Regions from separate parts of the Homo sapiens genome. Here regions 2, 3, 4 and 5 are each linked to region 1. Evidence: promoter capture Hi-C in 16 types of primary human blood cells and fetal thymus (Javierre and others, 2016). All regions are on one chromosome and are shown on one strand. The core of a region is centred on a gene start or on the middle of the fragment in contact, and the rest is flanking DNA. Distances in the headings are between cores, read along the strand shown. Region 1 holds the start of HSPG2 (heparan sulfate proteoglycan 2). Region 2 overlaps USP48 (ubiquitin specific peptidase 48). Region 3 overlaps USP48 (ubiquitin specific peptidase 48). Region 4 overlaps USP48 (ubiquitin specific peptidase 48). Region 5 overlaps USP48 (ubiquitin specific peptidase 48).

Region 1 (2,716 bases), core at 140-2,639:
GTGGGGCAAGAGCAGTGAGGAGCCAGGTCTGGGTGGGGGCTTGACGAGTGACTCAGGAGGGTAGAGGTGCGATGAAGCCAGGAAGGTGAGGCCAGGCAGGCAGTTCCTGGGTAAACACCAGCCTGGTTAGAAAAGTCCCTCTCTTGGCTCAGAGAACAGGGAGGCAGGTATGGGGACTGCCTAGGAGCACCTCGGAGAGAGTGGGGGTGGCTCTGTGGCTCCCCACGGTAGGCTCGGCTCCCCAGATGTGCCCCCACCCACATCTGCCACTAGCTCCCTGCCCACCGACCCCACCCAGTCCTCCTCAAGTTCACTCAGGTCCTCAGGGCCTCTGCTGGCCAAGTGCCTTCTAAGCCTCGGGATTCCTGACCGTAGAATTCCCTTTTCCTCCACCTAAGCTCAGAGTAGGGGACTAGACTGCAAGGGCAGGCCTCTCCCTGCCTCTTGGAGACCTGGGAAGAGGAAAGCTGGGGAACTCGGGTCCCCCAAGGGTGCACTGCATCCCCGCACCACGCACTTTGCAGCTCATTCCACGCAGTCCAGCAACGCCCTGCAGCTATGCATTTTGAGGCCGTGCATTTTGAGTTCCCTTGACCCACGTGGGGCTGGCCTCAGAGAGGTTAACTAGCGTGCCCCAGGTCACACAGTTACTCAGTGAAAGGCAGGGATTGATTCAACTCTTCGGCTGTATGACTCCAAGGCCCGTGGGTGTTCCACACAAGCTTCAGTTCTGTCCCAAAAGTTTTGCTTGTGCCTACCTGGGTCCAAGCTCCCCAAGGTGATAGACGGTGTGGTAAAGTTTCAGCGAGACTCATAGGGTCCCCATCACCACTGAGTGGCCGTTCTGCCAAGCTGGCGCAGAAGGGTTCCCTCGTCCTGCCAAGTTCCCACCCTGCTCAAAGTTTCCCCTCCTGGTCCCCAGGAATGGTAGGCCGGACCATGCCCAGCGAGACTCCAGCACTCGGCAACGTGGCCGAGAGACCCACGGGCTCCCACACGGGCCAGCCCCGCCCCCAGCCCCACGAAGGGTCCTGACTGGTGGCCCCCCTGGATTAGCCCCATGCCGCAGGGTGGCGCCGGCCCGGGGTCCCCGGCGGGCGCCGCCGTCCCGGGCCAGAGTCCCCGCCGCGCAGCCTTGGGCGCCCCAGCCAAGTTGGCGGGAGGCGGCGAGCGGGACCGGGGCGCCCCTAGCCCCTCCGCCCCCGCCCCCCGCCCCTCTGCCCCGCACACTCACCGCCAGCAGCCGCCCGTGCAGCAGCAGCGCCAGCAGCAGCGCGCCCGCCGCCCGCCACCCCATGGCCCGGCCCGCGCCGCTCTCTCGCTCGCTCGCTCCGCGCCGCCCGCTCCGCGCCGCCCGCAGCCGCCCGCTCGCCGGCCAGCTCGGGACAGCGCGGCCCTCTCCCCACCGCCCCCTTTCCTCCCCGCCCGCCCCGCCCCCGCAGCGCCGGCCCCGCCCCCGAACCGCCCCTCCCCGGAGCGCCAGGCCCCGCCCACGGACCGCCCCCGGGCCGCGGGCTCTGCTCGCCCCAGCCGGCCGCGCAGCCTACTAGGCCTTTGTCTGGGCCCCCAGCCCCCTCCGCGCGGGCCGCGGCCCGGCCCGGCTCCCCGCCAAACCCGGCCTGGAGTATGGGATGGGACGGGGCGGGGGACCGGGGGCCCGGGCCCGGGCATGGGATGGGGCCGCCGGGCCAGGCGCTCTCGCCTCCCCGATCCCCGGCTCCCCCGCTTCCCCGCGCGCGCCGCCGACTTCCACGCCCCTGCACGCCCCGCACGGCCGACTCCACTCGCGCAGCTTTTGAAGATCCCGGGATCTCCTTCCCACGCTCACACGCACGCAGCTGCCGCTCCGCGCCACACGTGCACGCCAACTTCCACACCCAAGAACACCTTCACACCATAACTTTACTGCACGAACACACTTGTGCGCTACCCGGGAACACTTTCACACTCTGGACCCAACTCTGAAGTACCAACAATCCTCACCGGCTCACATGCACACTTAACTCGCTTCCAAACTCTCACCTCCACCAGGGACACAGGAGACAGCCCTCACACCACACTCAGCCCCTCACTCACGCATACATCCCAACAAGTCACGGAGCGGGAGGACGCCTTTTCACATAGATTCCTCGCAGGCACGCACATTTCACACACAGGCCCACATCATTGCCTACATGCTTACCAGCTTGTTTTTTTTTTTTTTTTTTTTTTTGAGAAGGAGTCTCGCTCTGTCCCCAGGCTGGAGTGCGGTGGTGGGATCTTGGCTCACTGCAACCTCCGCCTCCGGGTTCAAGCAATTCTCCGGCCTCAGCCTCCTGAATAGCTGGGATTACAGGCGTGCCACCACGCCTGGCTAATTTTTGTATTTTTAATAGAGATGGGGTTTTTACCATGTTGGCCAGGCTGGTCTCGAACTCCTGACCTTGTGATCTGCCCGCCTTGCCCTCCCAAAGTGATGGGATTACAGGCATTGAGCCACCGCACCCAGCCTCAGCCTGTATCTTTTACCTGTTCTCACCCACTAATCACAGTGCCTCATAGTGGGCACTGGGTACTGAACTGAGCTGCCCACCCCACCTGCACCATTTTCCATGTAAATCACTCACACACCAACTTTGAGTCACATAAATCACAGCCCCAGAGCCAGAACCACACCAACTCACACACTCAGGCCCAGACAGACAGACCCTGCCAAAGCCCCATCACAGATGCTCGG
Region 2 (2,700 bases), core at 182-2,681, 190 kb before region 1:
GGAGCGTCTACAAAAGAATCTTAATAGTATTCCCTATATCATTAATGAAGACAATAATCCACAGGTATCAGCAGTAGCTGTCTTTATTACCAATAGACAGCATTAAAAATGTTGACATTACCATTCTTGCAGATAACCTGGATTTATATTCATCAATTCATTGAACTAATCAATTTTAAAATTAAGGCCAGGCGTGGTGGCTCACACCTGTAATCCCACCACTTTGGGAGGCCGAGGTGGGCAGATCACCTGAGGTTGGGAGTTCTCGAGACCAGCCTGGCCAATATGGCGAAATCCCATCTCTACTAAAGATACAAAAATTAGCCAGGTACGATGGCATGCGTCTGTAGTCCCAGCTACTCGAGAGACTGAGGCAGAGAGAATTGCTTGAACCCAGGAGGTGGAGGCTGCAGTGAGTCGAAATTGCACCACTGCACTCCAGCCTGGGCGACGCAAAATTCTGTCTCAAAAAAAAAAACAGAAAAAGAAAAAAACTTCAGAATTAACATAGTTTTTAGGCCAGGTGCGGTGGGTCACGCCTGTAATTCCAGCACTTTGGGAGGACAAGGCGGGCAGATCACTTGAGGTCAGGAGTTCAAGACCAGCCTGGTCAACACAGTGAAACCCCGTCTCTACTAAAAATACAAAAAATTAGCCAGGCATGGTGGCAGGCGCCTGTAATCCCAGCTACTCGGAAAGCTGAGGCAGGAGAATTGCTTGAACCCAGGAGATGGAGGGTGCAGTGAGCCGAGATCATGCCACTGCACTCCAGCCTGGGCAACAGAATGAAACTCTATCTCTAAAAAAAAAAAAAAAAAAAAAAAAATGCTAAGCTTTTAAGTCCCCAAGGAATATGGCAAGACTTGAGTTTGAGAGTCAGGGGCTAATGTTCAAAAATGAGGATCCCTCATTCTAAAGATGTCTGCATATCTGCAGTCTCACCATTTAAAGAAACAGGTGGATTCTCCTTTTAACAACAGATCTTCTTTTGGATCCATCTTTTGAGCTTTGCATGGATATGTGTGTACAGATTTGTGTGGTTATGTGTGGGTACGGGAAAATATAAATACTAATTATCTGGATGACAAAATTACATATGGTTTGTATTTCTTTTCTTTATGCTTTCTGAATTTCCCAAATTATCTAGAACAAATCCTATGCAATTAACAAAAGTTAATTGTTTTTAGTCTTCTACCTATATAAGGTACAGCAAGCATTACGACAGCGTGTAAAAGACAAGCCTATAACTATAAACCACTAGATTGCTTTTACCAGTCCTAACAATTCTAAAATGAGTAGATAATATTTATTTATTTATTTATTCATTCATTTATTTAAAAATTAAGGAGACAAACATGGTGGCTCATGCCTGTAATCCCAGCACTTTCGGGAGGCTGAAGTAGGAGGATCACTAGAGCCCAGGAGTTCAAGACCCCGTCTCTAAAAAAAAATAACTAAAAATTAGCTGGGCCTGGTGGAATATGCCTGTAGTTCCAGCTTGAGCCCAGGAGGCTGAGTCCGTGATGAGCCGTGATCACATCAATGCAATTTATAGCCTGGGCGACAGAGCCAGACCCTGTCTCAAAAACAAATTAATAAAAAATAAAAAATACTATATTTAGTAAACCAACATACCAAAATTAAGTATTTCTACAGGTTTTGATCTAACACGTCCTTTTGATAAATATTTTCTTTATAGCATAAACTGGGCAAATATATAATAAACTTAGTAAGTAGTAATAGTAACAATTCAAACTCATCCAGTCAAGTCAAGCAAAGTGCTCATTTCACATCTCCTAAGTTTCTGGACTGGGAAGCCACTAACCCATTAGATTTTCCTCAATTTCAATTGCCTGAACAAAGGAGGCAGGAAGCAAACTACTACATAAAGTGAACTATAGCTAAGTTTATTTATTCAACAAAATTTAACAATCTAACATTGAAGTCCAAAACTGAAGTTGAAAACAGTTTCCTTGTTCCACAGAGGTACAAATTTTAAAGTACAGTACTGAAGAGTATCATACATTTGAAAGCTTACATATTTATTTAGCACATTCCTCCCCAACTTTCCCAATCATGTCTCTTAAAGGTTTTTACAGCTTGCTTCCATTGTAAGCTGCCTCCAGAAATGTCTCTTAAAGGTTTTTACAGCTTGCTTCCATTGTAAGCTGCCTCTAGAAATTTTTTATTTTTTTGGAAAGAGATAGAGTTTATAAAATAATTTCTACATTAAAAATTTCAGGTTGGGGGCAGTGGCTCACGCCTGTAATCCCAGCACTTAGGGAGGTCAAGGCAGGTGTCCCACTTGAGGCCAGGAGTTTGAGACCAGCTTGGCCAACACGGCAAAACCCTAAAGTGCAAAAATTAGCTGGGCTCCCTTGTAGCCTCCCAGCTACAAGGGAGGCTGAGGTTGCAGTGAGCTGAGATCGTGTCACTGCACTCCAGCCTAGGCAACAGAGCAAGACTCCGTCTCAAAAATACATACATACATACATAATATTTTATAAGTACTACAATCAACCTTAAAGGGAAGTAAAACAGTCCTTTCTCTAGTAAGACTCAACCTGTTTGGTAGGATGAAGACTACCAAAAGAAAAAAGCAGTACTTATTTCTTGTTAAAACAATGATAGCATCCTAGGGCGTATCAGTAGTTGCAGATATGAAAAATGAAAGCATAAATACTGGAATTATGCCACCTA
Region 3 (2,700 bases), core at 44-2,543, 240 kb before region 1:
ACCACAGAGATGTCCCCGCCACAGAGATGGGGACATGAAAACAGAGTTGACAACAGGGTAAAGGGCGGCAGCAAAGTCATGTCTGCAAACGCTTGTGGAGACATATTAGTAGAGTCAACTAATATGTCTCCACAAGCGTTTGCAGACATGACTTTGCTGCCCTTCTTTACCCTGTTCCTTATGCCAAGGAGCACAAGATGTATATATGCACACAGAGTTTAATAAGGGCATCACTTACTATAGAAAAATATCCCCTTTAAACTGAAAACCTGCATTCTCATCAAGTGTACAGATTTGGTTAGCACTGAAGCAAAGGGCCCTCCAGTGTTGACTGACTGAAATACAGACTGGGAAGGACAACTTAAAGAGTGGCTGATCACTGTCACAAACTGCATGATTTTGCTTCTTCACAGGTGTTTTGAGGTTATTTTATGAGCGCCAATAAGCCACGGAAAACAAATGCTGACATCCCTTTACACCGGTTGGGAAACCACAAGTAACATTTATTTTGGGCACACCAAGATTCAAATCAAGACGGCTTTTCAGACTCTCTCAATCAATGTTAAAAATGAAGTAACAGTATCAACATGCAGACAGGCCAACAAGCCCAGATACCTCTGCCCTGTCACAGATATTGCAGATGGCTATTGTAACACTTTCATTCTTTCAGGGAGAACACCATCCACAATTTCACTACACTATTTTAGTAGTAAAGAAAGAAAACAAACATCTCATCTGTTAAAAATAAAACTTTGAGTAGAAAATCCATGAGTTTAAAGTACAAAATATCCTCCAATGTGGGGGTCTGACTTTTTGAGAAGCTGAAACTTATCTCCACCTACATCAACCATATTCCCACGATTTCCTGTTCTCAAAAGACAATTTATGGGCCGGATGCGGTGGCTCACGCCTATAATCCCAGCACTTTGGAAGGCCAAGGCGGGAGGATCATGACATCAGGAGTTCAAGACCAGCCTAGGTGAAACCCCGTCTCCATTAAAGATACAAAAAATTAGCCAGGAGTGGTGGCGCATGCCTGTAATCCCAGCTACTTGGGAGGCTGAGGCAGGAGAATCACTTGAACCTGGGAGGTGGAGGTTGCAGCGAGCCGAGATTGTGCCACTGTACTCCAGCCTGGTTGACAAGGCTAGGATCCATCTCAAAAAAAAAAAAAAAAAAAAGGCCGGGTGCGGTGGCTCCTGCCTGTAATCTCAGCACTTTGGGAGGCTGCGGTGGGCGGATCACGAGGTCAGGAGTTCGAGACCAGCCTGGCCAACACAGTGAAACCCCGTCTCTACTAAAAATATAAAAAATTAGCCGGGTGTGGTGGTGGGCGCCTATAATCCCAGCTACTTAGGAGGCTGGGGCAGGAGAATCATTTAAACCCAGGAGGCGGACATTGTGGTGAGCTGAGATAGTGCCATTGCACTCCAGCACAGGCAACAGTGCGAGACTCCATCTCAAAAAAAAAAAAAAAAGAAAAAAAAAGAACCAATATCCCATACAGGGTACAGAGACATGGCCAGGGGCTTCGAGTGGCTGCTCTATAAGAACAGCAGAAAGTATAACAATGAAAAGCAGCTTCAACACATACTTGATTAAAATCTGGATCTTTTTCTCCATCTGGTTTAGCTTCTTCCTTGTCCTCCTCTGTTTCAGAACTACTCACATTCAGTTCCGGAGCCGAATCCTTCATCACCTGAATGTGCCAGGACAACAAAGAGAAGTAGGTCAGACCCTAGGAAGGCAGGCTATGGAGGATGTGGGGGCTGGGACCGGCAACCTTTATCAAGACGAGGAACACCTTTATCATGGTGGGATTATAGACTGGAGAGTGGATCAAGAATCAAGCCTTCACGGTTTTCTATGCTCTTTTAACATGTTAGTTTTTTACCCTATGACTTATTCTTGTAGTATTTAATGTGCTCACCATACATTTAAGAGGTCTCTGCAGAGCAGTTATTATTATCAGTCTTGTACAATGATGTTATTTTGCAGAAGTTCGAAGGTGCTTGACACCTTCCCGAGCACACTGATTGCCAAGCCTTTTCAAGTTCTCAAACTATTCAAGTGGCAGGAGTTACATGCTCTTTAAGAATTGAGAAAACGAAAGATGGAAGAAGCGCTCTCTTGCAAACACTATGAAATACTCTTATTAAACTGAATAATGAAACTACATCTAAATTGGATAATATTTTATACCAGAGAACAAAAGATTTAAGAAAATTTTACAGGGAGAAACAGAGACATTTATACTCATTAACTTCATTTTCTCGGCAAATTAGGAAATGAAGGCCTTAGTTTATTTAGCTTGTAAAGCAGAACCCTTGGCCTCCAGGGCATAATTATAAGTTACCCTTCTAAAAAATGTGTTTGGAAACAAGCATCAAATAAAATGTATTCCATTTTGTCTTTAATCCCAGAAAGCATGGAATTAAATAAATTAATAAGATATCTAGAGATATGGGTCAGGATCTACCCAAGAGCCATCCCTAATATAATAAAAATGCTTGGAAATCCAATCCAAGCAAGTATTAACACCTCCACTTCCCAAACATATCCAATCAATTTCACCTATCCTTGCAGGTCAATGGAAGAGGCTCTAACTGACCTCTCTTATTTCTGTTATGCCCTCACAGCAATTCCAAACACTATAGCCAGGGTGATTTTTTTTAAACTATAAATCAGATCATATCATGA
Region 4 (2,700 bases), core at 131-2,630, 210 kb before region 1:
AAACTTGCAATTAACCAGACAAGGGCTCAAGTACCTTAAACAGTATTACACAGAGTAACAAACTACTACCAGACAGTTTTCTTAAAAGGGTCCTATTTTGTCTGCTTTGAGAGGGGTTAAAAGAAACAAACCAAAAAAACAAACCAAAAAACCCCAACCAACCCTCTATGAATAGCATCAGTTGCTTAACTTCTACTTTATTTAGCAAATCCTTTGTGCAAAGTGTAAGGAATATTTGGTCTAGCATAGTTTGGGTCAAATCATCATAAGCCACACTCATAAAGACCATAAGATGAAGATTTAATGAGCTGCTCTTTTTTAAACAGAGAGGACATCTTGAATTACCAGTTAGTCTTGGACCTCCTCCATATCTACTATAGAAAATGTCAGCTGCATATTCAGATATCCTCTTCATAATTGATATTTTATCCGGGTGAAGCTTGTCATGGGAACACAGGCAAGCGTGATTATCAATAGGTTTGGTAGGTGTTGATTCATCCAACCACTTTTGCAGCCATTCCAGAGAGACAAACTCATAGGGCTCTGAGAAAGCAAGCATCGGAAAGAGCCTATGTATTTTTACAGTTTTTTGACTAAGTGATACATTCATTTTTCTCAAAAGACAATGCAAACTCTGTCCAGAGTTAGCAGAATCAGAAGAATCATTGTCTGGGGGAAGATGTTTGATGAGTACGACACAAAGCTCCAGTTAAGTGCCACTCCTATGAGTTCAAGGAGCTGTGCACCATAATGCTGAGTCTGCACAGTGCCCTATGAGATCGGCTGGTATTATTAACCACATTCTACAAGAGGCATCCACATAGAGTCTTGCCGAATAGCACAGCAGAGCTTTGATCAGGACACCCATGTTTGTTGACTACAAGTCATGCTCCATTGCTGCCTCACAAATAACACAACCTCATGCCCTACTGTGTTTATTTCATAAATTATTTTTGTCAGTACTTTTCACATATATGTGATATACATCTGAAAATTAAAATGAGAAGCCAAACTGAAATAAACCTCACCGACTATGACCACACTTCAGAAGACGCTTTTAACCACTGAACTTTCTTCATCCAAGATGATACTGATGGCAATTTTGAAAAGGTATTTAATTCCCCCACCCAAATCCAAGTCATGATCTCTTCATTATATTATTATTTATTTCAAGAAAGTAACCTATTTTAAACAAGTTCGAGGATAAAGTACACTAGAACTGAGTCATCAATTTTGAAGTTGCAAAAATTAAAAGACAAAACCAAACACCTCAAAATGAGTTTTAATTTGGGGAAAGGAAGTCCCTAGAATTCCCTAAAAGCCAAAATCAAAGATAAAGGGCCAGCTTTGATTACTTACAAAGATCTCCAGTGAGTCCCAGCATAAAACATAGAAGAAAACATACAGAGGTTGAATTTATATTTTTGTATTATATACTCCTTCTGATGAGATCTGAGGGACAGATACTTCAACGCAAAGCCCATTGTGACCAGTTTTATACTCCCCAGAGAGTTACATGTCTAGAAAACTAACTCCCATTTTAATTTTACAGTAAACCATCTCAATTTTTATGAAAACAAAATTTGGCACTGTACATCATCAACTAAGAGCCTTCTAACTGGTCAAGTCGAATGTGGCTCCAGAGGAAGAGCACAGGACTGTGAGTCGAGGTCACGGTCTAATCCAAGTTCTGCTACCAAGAAAATGAACCTGAACAAGTCACTTAAACTTTCTATGTTTCCAGTCTTTTATTTGTAAAATGAAGGTAATAATACCTGCCTTCTACCTACCTCATGGGAATGTTGTTGAGTATAAAAGATAAGCTATGTGAAGCATTTTGAGCTTTTTGGAAGAAAAGAGATATGGAAAAGTTAATTATACATTTACGTAAACTTAATATATAAAAGAGGAGACCTTGGCTGGGCATGGTGGCTCACGCCTGTAATCCTAGCACTTTGGGAGGCCGAGGCGGGCAGATCACCTGAGGTCCAGAGTTTGAGACCAGCCTGACCAACAGGGAGAAACCCCGTCTGTACTAAAAATACAAAAAATTAGCTGGGCATGGCGGCACACGACTGTAATACCAGCTATTCGGGAGGCTGAGGCAGGAGAATCACTTGAACCCGGGACGCGGAGGTTGTGGTGAGCTGACATTGCACCAGTGCGCTCTAGCCTGGGCAACAAGAGTGAAATTCCATCTCAAAAAAAAAAAAGAGGAGACTTTAAGATGCAGTATATGTAACACAGCTGCAGCACTTTACAGTATATCATGGTATGGCTAATTACATTCAAAATGCCTCCCGACTTTATTTGCCATTTATCAAGCTTAATCTGCCAGGGATAGAGTACACTGGGTATCTGGGGAATGCAAAGATAAATGATCCCTTTCTGAAAGCAAGATCAAAGTCTTAGCATACTCTCATCTTTTCCCAAGGACAGTCAATTAGATTAAAATGGTAAGCAATATGAAGGCTATCAAAGGAGAAAAAACAGGATTGTGATAAAGAGCAACATTCAAGAATAAGTCACTAGGCATCCTAGTTTCCCCAGCAGCTGGGGAGGAGTGGACAGACAGCAGTATCTGTTATTGCTAACTGAAAGAAAACACCCTAAGAATCCTGGCCCTCACAATGAAAGGAATCTAGGAAAGCTCAAAATGCACAAAGCCCTCCTTGCCAGGGGATGTCTGCAGGAATTCAA
Region 5 (2,700 bases), core at 22-2,521, 250 kb before region 1:
GATCTCGGCTCACTGCAACCTCTGCTTCCTGGGTTCAAGCAATTCTCCTGCCTCAGCTTCCCAAGTAGCTGGGATTACAGGCACCCACCACCACACTTGGCTAATTTTTGTATTTGTAGTAGAGACAGGGTTTCACCACGTTGGCCAGGCTCGTCTCGAACTCTTGACCTCAAGTGATCCGCCCGCCACAGCCTCCCAAAGTGATGGGATTACAGGAGTGGGCCATCGTGCCTGGCCTACTTCATAATTTTAGATAAAAATCTAATAAATTCTTCAGTGAAGGATACAAACAGCTGTTTTACCACTTACATAGCACCTGCCCCGACCCATCCTCCTGATGAAGTGGTGTTTGTTGTTGTTAAGCCAGTCTCCAGCGCTGGCATTACTTTTTACGCCATTAATACTAGTCACAGTTGAATGCCTTGGTGCACCTTGGTTATATTTACTACATGGTATGACTTGGTCTTTCTGGGCTTGGTAACTACTGAATTACTGATGTGTTTCATTTTCTCTGTATTTATCTCCAATTCACGTGTAAATTCTTAAAGACCTGTAACCTCTTGAAGACAGTCATCATCCCTTCCACTTTTCCTTGTGGCATCCCTTCCTGAAGCTCGCATCCCACCACTCCAATATGGATCAGGTGTCTTCGCTGCCTGCTGAAGAACAGTAGTTCTGAGACTTCCCTTCACCATCTTCTAGGGCATCTTATCCTAGGCTGATCTGCTATTTACTGGGTCCACTGTTGATTCTTTCTTGATTTAATGTTTAAGAAGAAGAACACATCCTCACACAGTATCATGGCAGACGGTGCATGACAGATCAATCTTTTGAAGCCCTGAATATGTTCAAGGGGCCATCAGGTGTGAGGGTTACAGACTTATAGATTGGAACTTGCTTTCCCTCAGGATCTTGCGGGCACTGCTCTATTATCTTCCTGACTTCATCCTGTGAATTTGACTGGCTTTCCCTCCTACTTCTAGATGCTTTCATGACCCTCTTACCCTTAGTTTTTTACTTACTATATCAAACCCAGGGTACCATCATTTTTTACATTTCCATGAACTCTCTTCTATGCTCCAAATGTTCCTTTTATATAGTTCCTCTTCCTATTGTTTGCTTTTTTTTTTTGCCATTATTTATAGGTTATTTTCCAGCTTTCTTATGCTTCCTATGCTATTTCCTCGACATATCTTGGTCCCAGGCTCTCATTCCTCAACTATCTGACTGCTCATATTTACTTAAGTATGAGGTACTAAAAAGATTTGTGGGCCAGGCGTAGTGGCTCACGCCTGTAATCTCAGCACACTGGGAGGCCGAGGCAGGCGGATCATGAGGTCACGAGTTCCAGAGCAGCCTGGACAACATAGTGAAACTCTGTCCCTACTAAAAATACAAAAATTAGCTGGGCATGGTGGCAGGCGCCTGTAGTCCCAGCTACTTGGGAGGCTGAGGCAGAAGAATCGCTTGAACCCAGGACGGGGAGATTGTAGTGAGCCAAGATCATGCCACTGCACTCCAGCTTGGGCAACTGTGAGACTCCATCTCAGAAAAAAAAAAAAAAAGATGTCTGAAAGCTCTGTTCAGTGGGCACTGGTGGGATTGACTAAAGGGTGCCTGGGACATGAACCAGCTTTAAAAAAAATACAAACAAGGCCAGGTGCAATAGCTCACATCTGTAATCCAAACACTTCGGGAGGCCGAGATGGGCAGATCACCTGACGACAGGAATTTGAGACCAGCCTGGCGAATATAGTGAAACCCCGTCTCTACCAAAAATACAAAAGTTAGCCAGGCATGGTGTTGCATGCCTATAGTCCCAGCTACTACTCAGGAGGCTGAGCCAGGAGAATCACTTGAAGCCCAGAGGCGGAGGTTGCAGTGAGCCATACTGCACTTCAGCCTTTTGAGACTCCATCTCAAAAAAATAAAAAATAAAAAATAAAAGCCAAACATAATATTTGTACATATTTATGGGGAACAGCTTATATTTTGATACATGCATACAGTGTATAATGATCACATCAGGGTATTTAGTTATCTCCATCACCTTGAATATTTATTATTTCTTCTTTTTTGAGACAGGGTCTCAATCTGTCACCCAGGCTTGAGTGTAGTGGCATGATGACAGCTCACTGCAGCCTCCAACTCCCCGGCTCAAGCAATCCACCCACCTCAGCCTCCCAAGTATCTGAGACCACAGGTGCGAGCCACCATGCCTGGCTCTTTTTTTAAAATTTGTAGTAGAGACAGGGTCTCACTATGTTGCCCAGGTTGGTCCTGAACTCTTGGGTTCAAGTGATCCACTGCGCCCGGCCTATCATTTCTTTGTGTTGGGAACATTGCATTATCTTTTCTTCTAGCTCTTTTGAAATATACAACATATCACCCTACTGTACTACTGAATACCAGAACTTATTCTTTCTATCAAATTGTATGTTTGTACCCATTAACCAACCTCCCTTCATATGGCCCCTTTCCCATCCACTCATAACTACCATTCTACAGCCAAAAGATCAGCTTTTTTAGCTCCTACGTATGAGTGAGAAAATACAGTATTGTCTTTCTGAGCCTGGCTTATTTCACTTAACATAATGTCCTCCAGTTCCACCCATGTTGCTGCAAATGACAGGATTTCATTTTTTTAATGGCTGAATAATAGTATCCCATTGTATGTCTACATATAAATATAACATATCA

Evidence for each region. The method cuts DNA at HindIII sites, captures the fragments that hold promoters and counts their contacts. A CHiCAGO score of 5 or more calls a contact.
Region 2: a fragment that was not itself captured here is called in contact with the fragment with the promoter of HSPG2 in region 1 in 3 of 17 cell types (erythroblasts, naive CD4 T cells and megakaryocytes); the score reaches 6.3 in erythroblasts.
Region 3: a fragment that was not itself captured here is called in contact with the fragment with the promoter of HSPG2 in region 1 in 2 of 17 cell types (megakaryocytes and erythroblasts); the score reaches 9.5 in megakaryocytes.
Region 4: a contact is called between a fragment that was not itself captured here and the fragment with the promoter of HSPG2 in region 1, in 1 of 17 cell types (erythroblasts). The highest score is 7.7, in erythroblasts.
Region 5: a fragment that was not itself captured here is called in contact with the fragment with the promoter of HSPG2 in region 1 in 3 of 17 cell types (megakaryocytes, erythroblasts and M1 macrophages); the score reaches 7.3 in megakaryocytes.

Annotation. Positions count from the first base shown.
Region 1 is chr1:21,935,921-21,938,636 of GRCh38, forward strand. It overlaps HSPG2 (heparan sulfate proteoglycan 2), which reads right to left and starts at 1,390. Exons shown (of 97, transcript NM_005529.7): 1 at 1,235-1,390. The coding sequence starts at 1,297. RefSeq lists an enhancer at 1-681 and a silencer at 1,429-1,778. The HindIII fragment of the contact is 13,080 bases long and covers 721-2,716 here.
Region 2 is chr1:21,743,977-21,746,676 of GRCh38, forward strand. All of the region lies in intron 8 of USP48 (ubiquitin specific peptidase 48), which reads right to left. Among named protein-coding and RNA genes, the nearest start is that of USP48, 38 kb to the right of the region's middle. The HindIII fragment of the contact is 1,200 bases long and covers 832-2,031 here.
Region 3 is chr1:21,699,904-21,702,603 of GRCh38, forward strand. USP48 (ubiquitin specific peptidase 48) reads right to left here. Exons shown (of 27, transcript NM_032236.8): 22 at 1,595-1,699. Among named protein-coding and RNA genes, the nearest start is that of RAP1GAP, 32 kb to the left of the region's middle. The HindIII fragment of the contact is 5,242 bases long and covers 1-2,700 here.
Region 4 is chr1:21,723,553-21,726,252 of GRCh38, forward strand. It overlaps USP48 (ubiquitin specific peptidase 48), which reads right to left. Exons shown (of 27, transcript NM_032236.8): 12 at 346-543. Among named protein-coding and RNA genes, the nearest start is that of RAP1GAP, 56 kb to the left of the region's middle. The HindIII fragment of the contact is 1,886 bases long and covers 438-2,323 here.
Region 5 is chr1:21,681,325-21,684,024 of GRCh38, forward strand. The region is part of intron 25 of USP48 (ubiquitin specific peptidase 48); the gene reads right to left. Among named protein-coding and RNA genes, the nearest start is that of RAP1GAP, 13 kb to the left of the region's middle. The HindIII fragment of the contact is 3,882 bases long and covers 1-2,700 here.